Regions from separate parts of the Homo sapiens genome. Here all the other regions are linked to region 1. The links are contacts of gene promoters, found by promoter capture Hi-C in blood cells and fetal thymus (Javierre and others, 2016). All regions are on one chromosome and are shown on one strand. Each heading gives the region's core, a stretch centred on a gene start or on the middle of the fragment in contact. The rest is flanking DNA. Distances are from core to core; before and after follow the strand shown. Region 1 holds the start of LY9 (lymphocyte antigen 9). Region 2 overlaps F11R (F11 receptor). Region 3 has its middle 33 kb from the start of ITLN2.

The links. The method cuts DNA at HindIII sites, captures the fragments that hold promoters and counts their contacts. A CHiCAGO score of 5 or more calls a contact.
Region 2: a fragment that was not itself captured here is called in contact with the fragment with the promoter of LY9 in region 1 in 1 of 17 cell types (total CD8 T cells); the score reaches 5.6 in total CD8 T cells.
Region 3: a fragment that was not itself captured here is called in contact with the fragment with the promoter of LY9 in region 1 in 11 of 17 cell types (megakaryocytes, M1 macrophages, naive CD8 T cells and 8 more); the score reaches 10.8 in megakaryocytes.

What each region holds. Positions count from the first base shown.
Region 1 is chr1:160,794,579-160,797,730 of GRCh38, reverse strand. It overlaps LY9 (lymphocyte antigen 9), which reads right to left and starts at 1,557. Exons shown (of 10, transcript NM_002348.4): 1 at 1,420-1,557. The coding sequence starts at 1,543. The HindIII fragment of the contact is 6,680 bases long and covers 1-2,866 here.
Region 2 is chr1:161,003,619-161,006,770 of GRCh38, reverse strand. All of the region lies in intron 1 of F11R (F11 receptor), which reads left to right. Among named protein-coding and RNA genes, the nearest start is that of F11R, 16 kb to the left of the region's middle. RefSeq lists enhancers at 1-270, 271-780. The HindIII fragment of the contact is 7,142 bases long and covers 1-3,152 here.
Region 3 is chr1:160,985,775-160,988,926 of GRCh38, reverse strand. No RefSeq gene overlaps it. Among named protein-coding and RNA genes, the nearest start is that of ITLN2, 33 kb to the right of the region's middle. RefSeq lists a silencer at 1,234-1,528. The HindIII fragment of the contact is 816 bases long and covers 1,167-1,982 here.

The DNA of each region.
Region 1 (3,152 bases), core at 308-2,807:
AAGTGAGAGGGGTCTTTTCACTCGACTGCCTTTTAAGTTCCTGAAATGACTCTTTGGAGATACAAAAGCATCATCCTTTCAGACCAAAAGAGTGAGATTTGAGGTCATCCTAATCAGTGGAGCCAGACCAATGGAGATGCCTCTTTGCTCTGAACTGTTTGAAATTCACTGCATTGATCATTTGCGGCTTGGATGACCTTGAATGTAGCTTATTTCAGGTTTGCTCAACACAATCAAGGAACACCCCAAAGGTTGGAGGTAAACATAAACAGCCTTGCTGCTTTCTGTGTGTTTTGATGAGCCAAGATAAAATTGAAAGTGAAAAGAGGTCAGACTGGACCTCAGCTCTGAGGTCTAGGCTCCTCGTTCACCCATATCTGCATCTAGGAGTGTTTCTAAAGCTCCCTTCAGGCACCAACTGCCAACCCCCACTGCTCTCAGATCTCTAGTGCTACCTGCACCATCATCCCTGAAGCCCTGGAGAAAGCGGGAGCACAGAAGGACAGTAGCTGCCACAGTCCCAGGTGGCTGAGATCCTCTCTGGGGTACTGGATTGGCTCTATCTGCTGGACAGTGGGGTTCCGGGCCATGCAGCGGAGAGATGTTTCCCAGGAGTTGGGCCTTGATAGGGAGGAATAAGGTTGAGGAGAAAAGGATATCCAGATAAACGCCACCTTGCCCATGGTCACCTAACCGCGTCCAGGTCCCCAGTGAAACCTCAGTAATAAAGCCAGCATATATGATAACCAAGGCAGGATACATAGAAAGAAGCTCCAGAAGTTCTCTCCATCCCTAGGAAATTGCTAGGTGGCTTCTCATCAGGGGATTTTCCTGGATCCCTCTGTGGGTTTTATCCACACCATACAGGGAACAAACTCATTATATACTTGGCATTTCTTAGGAAAATGTGAGGGCAAGAGAAATGTAGTTTGAGCCCAGAGCTATTTGAGACCGGGGCTAGAATGTTACCCCCTTCATAGTGCACGAATATGCACACATGCAAAGTAATTTCTGGCAAGGAGATGAGTTTCCCGATTTTACCAACAAGAACTGGGCTCACGCCTGTAATCCCAGCACTTCAGGTGGCTGAGCTGGGCAGATCACGAGGTCAAGAGATCGAGACCACCGTGGCCAACATAGTGAAACCCTGCCCCTACTAAAAATACAAAGATTAGCTGGGTGTGTTGGCATGCACCTGTAATCCCAGCTACTCAAGAGGCTGAGGTAGGAGAATCGCTTGAACCCAGGAGGTGGAGGTTGCAGTGAGCCGAGATTGCGCCACTTCACTCCAGCCTGGCAACAGAGTGAGACTCCGTTAAAAAAAACAAAAAACAAAAAAAAGAATCTCCCAGGCAGGGAATGCAACTGGCCTCAGAAGAACCGCAGTAGCAAGAAGTGGTGGCCATAAAGTGGACTTACCCATGAGCAGGAAGAGGAGAGAGGTCTGTAGAACAGAAGAGAATATTTGCAGCTGACTCCTCTGTGGCTTACTGGAGAAAGGCCCAGGAGCCCAGTCATCTGTGTGACTCTTTGGTGCCACCATGATGATCTATTTTCAGAACTGAGACTGAAGGAGGATGCACTTACCACAGCTTCCGCACGTGTCACAGCTTCTGCATGTGTATATGAGTGTGTGTGTGCATGTGTATGTGTATGTGTGTGTGTCTCAGAGGGAGGGTTGTTTATACAAAACACCACAGACTCCTCCCATCTGCGCAGGCAGGTAGAGGTCCCAAGTCTATTCAGGGCCTCATTTGTGACTGATGTGGAGCATCACTTGCTTTGACATCAAGGGACTTGGGTTCTAAATTTGGCTCCTAAAGGTGACTGCTAAAGATCTGTACCTCCTGGCATTCATGCCTCTGTGTAATCACCTCTTCTTTAGTGTGGCCTGGATTTAGTGACTTGCTTCAAGTGAATAGAATGTGGCAGAGATGTGGGATGGGTCACTTCTGAGATTAGGTTACAAAAAAGCTGTGACTTCCATCTTGGGTTAGCATGTGTGTGCATATGCGCTCTCTCTTTCTCTTGCCCTCTCTCCCTCTCTGTCTTTCCCACTATCTCTGTCTCCCTACCTTACACTGAGGGGAGCCAGGTATTGTTTTGTGAGATACTTTAGGGAGAGGGTTCCAAAACAAAGAACAGAGGGAGGCCCCCAGCCAACAATCGGCGAGGAGCTGATTCCTCTGGCCAACTGTCCATGAGGACTGAGGCTAGCCAAGAATCACATGAGTGAGACTGGAAGTGGATCCTCCCCAGGAGGTCCTTGAAATGACTGCAGCCCTGGCTGACACCGTGATGTTAGTTGTGTGAGTACCTTAAGCCAGAGGCACCCAGCTAAGCCATGCCCAGATTCCTTATCAAGAGAAACTGTGAGATAATAAATGTTTGGTTTTTAAATTTTTTTTCAATTTTTTATTTTTCATCAAAAATGCTTATTGTTTTTAGCTGTGAAGTTTGGGGCAATTTGTTACACAGCAACAGATAACTAATACAGTGACCCAATACATTTTCTATTTTGCTCAAGGCAGTTTGTGCTAGCTTTCTGTCACATGCAATGAAGGACTTTTAATATGGACAAAGGCATCAGGGAGACTGCAATGGGGGTGGACATCGTATGTGACAGCGTAGAGGTGACTGAGTTGAAAAGGTAGGCTGGAGAATGGCATGATTCCCTATATCCTGACTTGGGAAACTGTCTTTTTCTCCTCCTTCTTCTTGTCAGTAGCGTAATAGCTGGCCATGCTATGGTTTGTGTTTCGGGCTTCAGGTCATTTGTTTACTTAGGCTGTAACATTAAGGGGACTTGGCAGGAAAACTTGAGGCTGGCAGAATGTGTAGTTTTAGCTAATATTCGATGAAAGCTTACAGAGTGCTAGTCCATCTTCTGACACTTTAACATATTCACTCATTTGATCTTACAATAGTTTTATGAGATATCTTTTATCATCCCCATTCTATAAATGAGAAAACTGAGGTGGAGAGGGGTTAAATAGCTTACTATAAGTTTTATAGTTAGTAAGGACTTGAACCCAGGAAGTCTGGGTTCAAAGGAAGAAGGGAGAGAGAGAGAGAAACCATTAAGATAACAGGCTTATGTCCATGGAAAGCATCTTTAGAGGCTGGTCATGATCTGATGTTGCACAATATTG
Region 2 (3,152 bases), core at 261-2,760, 210 kb before region 1:
GTGATAAGGCTGGCCTTGACTCATGATGTGATAGGCAATCACAATACACCTTGGGAGTATTGGCACAGTCAGGTCACAGGCAGACGTAGTTAATCCTGCAACAGAGGTGGGTGGGAGGACACTAAGGCGGAGGTTCGTGTATTTGAAACAAAATAACAGAAGCCCAGACCAGGTGATGGCAGTGCGGATTAATGAAGAAAAGGGTAATATGCCTGTAGCCCAACGTGTTTGTATATGTGTGGTGTGAATGTGATGATCTGAGAGGACTCAACAAAGAACTTTAGCTAAACCAGAAGTGGTGGAGGAACAACCATCAAATTCACATGTTGTGATTTGTGTGTATATGTGTGTTTATTTCAAAGGCTAGTTTTTAGTCTAATTAGATGCTGCTGTTCATTTGGGTGGTGCCATAGGTTGGGTTCTTGGGAAGCTGACTCTGAGATGTCAATAATCATACAAGACATTTATTAGGGAGTGCACTTGGGATCCACGCCCGTGGAAAGGAGGGGAAGGAAGCAAAGTTGGACAGAGGGAGAGGCCAAGTTTGCGTTATAGTCTTGGTGAGGCCTCAGCCTATCCCACAGACAGCTTTGGAACACTTTGGAACAGAAGTGCCCCCCCCCTTTTTTTTTTGAGATGGAGTCTCACTGTGTTACCCAGGCTGGAGTGCAGTGGTGCGATCTTGGCTCACGGCAACCTTCGCCTCCCGGGTTCAAGTGATTGTCCTGCCTCAGCCTCCCAAGTAGTTGGGATTACCGTTGCCCGCCACCATGCCCGGCTAATTTTTGTATTTTAGTAGAGATGGGGTTTCGCCATATTGGCCAGGCTGGTTTCAAACTCCTGACCTCAGGTGACCTGCCCGCCTCAGCCTCCCAAAGTGCTGGGATTACAGGCTGTTGAGCTGCCATGCCCAGCCTATTAGCATTCTTAATGAGAGTTGAGTAAGAGACTTCCACAGCCATGGTGGCTCACGCCTGTAATCCTAGCACTTTGGGAGGCCAAGGCAGGAGAATTGCTTGAGCTCAGGAATTTGAGACCAGCCTGGGTAACATAGTGGGACCTGGTCTCTACAAAAAAATTGTAAAAGTTAGCTGGGCAGGCCAGGTGCGGTAGCTCAGGCCTATAATCCCAGCACTTTGGGAGGCCGAAGCGGGTGGATCACTTGAGGTCAGGAGTTTGAGACCAGCCTGGCCAACATGATGAAACCTTGTTTCTGCTAAAAATACAAAAAATTAGCCAGGCATGGTGGCTCGTGCTTGTAATCCCAGCTACTCAGGAGGCTGAGGCAGGAGAATTGCTGGAACCCGGGAGACAGAGGCCTGTAGTCCCAACTACTTAGGAGGCTGAGGTGGGTCACTTGAGCCCAGCAGGCCAACACTGGGCCCTAAGCAGTAAGCCATAATGGTGCCACTGAACTCTAGCCGGGGCAACAGAGTGAGAAAGGAGGGAGGAGATAGGGGAGGTAGGGGAGGGAGGGGAAGGAGGAAGGAGGGAGGAAGGGAGGAGACTTATGTGTCCTCAGGAAGAATTTTCAATTTAATAAAAGCTATTTGGTTTAATTTCCATATCTATTATTATTATTATTATTATTATTATTATTATTTTATTTTTGAGACAGAGTCTTGCTCTGTCACCCAGGCTGGAGTGCAGTGGCACTATCTAGGCTCACTTCAGCCTCCACCTCCTGGGTTCAGTGATTCTCCTGCCTCAGCCTCCCGAGTAGCTGGGATTACAGGCTAGTGCCACCACCCCTGGCTGGTTTTTGTACTTTTACTAGAGACGAGATTTCGCCACGTTGGCCAAGCTGGTCTCGAACTCCTGCCCTCAAGCAGTCTCCCCACCTCGGCCTCCCAAAGTGCTGGAATTACAGGTGTGAGCTACCGTGCTCAGCCTCCATATCTATTATTACATTTGAGCATAAATTTGACATTAAAAATGTAATGGCAAATATATAAATAAAATAATATCATTAGAAATATTTTTATTAGTTTTTTTTTCATTAAACCTATGGTTTTTCTAAGAAACAGCTCGGTTTTCTTTTCTTATGTTTTTTAGAGACAGGGTCTTGCTCTGTCACCCAGGCACCCAGGCTGGAATGCATTGGTGTGATTGTAGCTCACTGTAACCTCCCACTCTTTGGCTTAAGTAGTCCTTTTGCCTCAGTCTCCCAAGTTACTGGGCTACAGGCATGTGTCACCATGCCTGGTTAATTTTTTTTTTTTTTGAGACGGAGTCTCACTTTGTTGCCCAAGCTGGAATGTAGTGTCACAATCTCAGCTCACTGCAACCTCTGCCTCCCGGGTTCAAGTGATTCTCTTTGCTCAGCCTTCCAGGTAGCACGCGCCACCACGCCTGGCTAATTTTTGTATTTTTAGTAGCGATAAGGTTTCGCCACGTTGGCCAGGCTGGTCTCAAACTCTTGACCTCAAGTGATCTGCCCTCTTTGGCCTCCCAAAGTGCTGGGGTTATAGGTGTGACCTACCGTGCCCAGCCTATACCCTTCTTTTTTGAAAACCATGCTATATGGCCAGGCGTGATGGTTCACATCTGTAATCCCAGCACTTTGGGAGGCCAAGGCAGGAGAACTGCTTGAGACCAGGAGTTCTAGACCAGCCTGGGCAATGTAGCAAGAACCCAGCTCTTTAAAAAAAAGAAATTCCAGCCTGGACAACATGGTGAAACCCTGTCTACTAAAAATACAAAAAATTGCCGGGCGCGGTGGCTCACGCTTGTAATCCCAGCATTTTGGGAGGCCAGGGCGGGTGGATCACCTGAGATCAGGAGTTCGAGACCAGCCTGACCAACATGGAGAAACCCCATCTCTACTAAAAATACAAAATTAGCCGGGCATGGTGGCGCCTGCCTGTAATCCTAGCTACTAGGGAGGCCGAGGCAGGAGAATCTCCTGAACCTGGGAGGCGGAGGTTGTGGTGAGTCTAGATTGCGCCACTGCACTCCAGTCTGGGCAACTAGAACAAAACTCCATCTTAAAAAAATAATAATAATAATACAAAAAACTAGTTAGAACTAGCTAGGCGTAGTGGCGGGCGCCTGTAATCCCAGCTACTCAGGAGGCTGGGGCAGGAGAATCTCTTGAATGTGGGAGGCAGAGGTTGCAGTGAGCCGAGATCACACCACTGCACTCTAGCCAG
Region 3 (3,152 bases), core at 325-2,824, 190 kb before region 1:
AAAAAAGTTGACAAGAAAAAATATGCAGAACATGCTTGTCCTCAGGCTTGTCAGAGACTCCTATAACCATATAAAGAAGCTGAGGGTTGATCATGCTTGAGCTATGATACTTATTAAAATAGTACTAGAAAGACAAATAGAATGTAGCATGGCAAAAGAGCTGCACATTTTGGGAGAAGGCATTTATTTGTAGGGGCTGAAATGTGCTAGCTCGAGAATCAGACCTAAGAATTACAAGGTGATTAACCAAAGGAAAAAGTCTCTGGAAGTAGAAAACTAAAAAGAAGGTTTGGAACAGGCTGGAAGTGAGATTGAAGCATATCACAGAAATGTTAGACATTCTTCAATGTCAGTGCCTTGGATGAATTTATAAGGCTTTGCCTTAAAGTTACTTGTGGGCTTATAAAGCCTGTGTCAAAGCTAAACAAAGCCAGACAATAGTTTAGACAAGAAGTAAGGATAGGTATTTATTTATTTATTTGAGATGGAGTTTCACTCTTGTCGCCCAGGCTGGAGGGTAATGGCGCGATCTTGGCTCACCGCAACCTCCGTGTCCGGGGTTCAAGCGATTCTCCTGCCTCAGCCTCCTGAATAGCTGGGATTACAGGCATGCACCACCACGCCCGGCTAATTTTTTTGTATTTTTAGTGGAGACAGCGTTTCTCCATGTTGGTCAGGCTGGTTTTGAACTTTTGACCCCAGGTGATCTGCCCACCTCGGCCTCCCAAAGTGTTGGGATTACAGGCGTGAGCCACTGCACCCGGCCTAGGATAGGTTTTTTTAAGTAGTAACTATTGCAGTAGGGAAGAGGGCCCAAGGTGAACTGAACTTAACTTCCTTAAAAAAAAAAAAAATGCAGGAGGCCTTTTGAAGGCTGGGATGTGCTAAGGGATAGGCATGAAGATATTAAGGAGAATTGCTCCATGTGACTAGACAATCTGGATTTGTGAATTGGCTCTTGTCCAGAAGAGAAATAAGCACCTATTTTTACGACAGGAGCTAGTAGTGCAAGTTAGAGCAAGGCACCCACCTGGTTGGGAGCTGGAGCAAGATTTATTTCCTCAAATGTTTGCATTTCAAAGAAACTCTCAGGTCCCAGTGAAAATAGCTCTGGGTAGAAGATTTACATCTCAAAGAGGCAGAGAAAGATGTTTTAATTGCAAGCTTTCTTTCTAAGTAATTGCACTAAGATGAAGTTCAGGGGCCTGTGTCTATTGCTAGGTTTGGGCTGGGATGCACAGTAAATTTTTCTGACAGCGATGAGCTTTTTCAGGCAGGCATTTTAAGCGGGGGGCTGAGGTCCTCCTAGGGACAAGGCCTTAAGTTGCTAGAAGCCATGCTAGAGCTTGGTTAAGGAGAGTCTTTGTTACCTGGCGTCTCTCTGCAGTGCCGTTTCAATGCCTTAGAGCAAGAGAGTGGTGGATGGACAGTGATAGTGATTCACGTGCGCAATTCACAACTTGCATTAGCAACCAGGCAAAAGCAAGTGCTGCTTTTAGAGGCCTTGGGAAGAATTTCCACAAGTTTCCGGCCATTGGGATACAGGGGAAAAGGGATTGGAGGGAGGCTCATCGGGAACAATACATTAGGTAATGTTGGGGTTTATAAATCGATACCCCCAAATATAGTACTGAACCGAAGAAGCAACCTGAAGATCTCTCTGACCTTCCCCGCTCCACACGGTCTCTCCCAAAAAGCTGAAGTTCCTTTATTTGCCTAAGATCCAGACCCTCCAAGGAGAACAGTAGGTTTCTTTTCCTCCTGTAAGACCAAAAATGTAACCACACCTGAACAGACCTTTTCATGAGTTAATGCCTGCTTCTCATGGTCATCTAAATTCCAAAGAAAACTATTTACAAGTTAATTTGTTTCCTGATCAAATCATTCTCTTTAGTAATCATTTATTGCCCATCAACAGAATTCCTTTTCTCCCGCAGGATCCAAACTCATTCTTTCTGTAACCTCATGATGGCGTATAAGCTTTTGCACCTCACTGGGAGGTTGGGTCTTCATTCTGAAGGCTTCTATGTATACATATTAAATAAGTTTGTATGCCTTTTTTCCTATTAATCTGCCTTGCGTCAGTGATTTTCAGCAAACTTCAGGGAGCCAAAGGCCTTGGCTCCCACAGTGATAATAAACAATATGACTTTTGGCTATCAAAATTCCTGCTGTTAGTTAAGGAAAAATTGTGACAGTTTCTGAAATGGACAAATACAGGCATCCTTCCAGTGGATTACTAGGATTTGTCTAGACTAGAGGACAGGATGCTTCTGGGGGTTTTCTGATTCTCTACAGGTCAGTATCCTTCCTTGTCTTGTACTGTTTTGCAACTCTAGAAAGAAAAGTTAAATATGTAGAAGCCTGACAGTGATACAAATGATCCCTGTTCATATTAATACAAATGCAAATTGTTTGCCTGGTAGAGATACAATTGATTTTCTCTCTGTAGAAAAAAAGATGATCCCAGCCAGGCGTGGTGGCTCACCCTGCAATTCCAGCACTTTGGGAGGCCGAGACAGGCAAATCACAAGGTCAGGAGTTCGAGACCAGCCTGGCCAATATGGTGAAACCCTGTCTCTACTAAAAATACAAAAATTAGCCAGGCGTGGTGGTGGGCGCCTGTAATCCCAGCTACTCTGGAGGGTGAGGCAGGAGAATTGCTTGAATCTGGGAGGCGGAGTTTGCAGTGAGCTGAGTCCTCGCCATTGCATTCCAGCTTGGGCAACAGAGTGAGATTACATCTCAAAAAAAAAAAAAAAAAAAAAAGAATCCCAGAAATTAAATGTTTTATATTTTTGCCACAAGAAAACACGTGCAAGTATGAAACTTTTTGTAAGGTCCTCTGAGCTGGCTGCACTATGGTCAAGCCACGGTGACATTCCCCCACCCTTGTGATAATGTACTTTGTGATACTCCTGTCCTTGTGAATGTACTTTGTAACATTCCTCCCCACCCTTGTGACAATACATCCTCCCTGCCCTTGTGACAATACACCCTCCCTGCCCTTGTGAATGTACTTTGTAACATCCTCCCCACCCTTGAGAATGTACTTTGTAATATCCATCCCCTGCCTGTAAAAAATTGCTCCTGACTACACCGCCTATCCCAAACCTATAAGAACCAATGATAATCCCACCACCTTTTGCTGA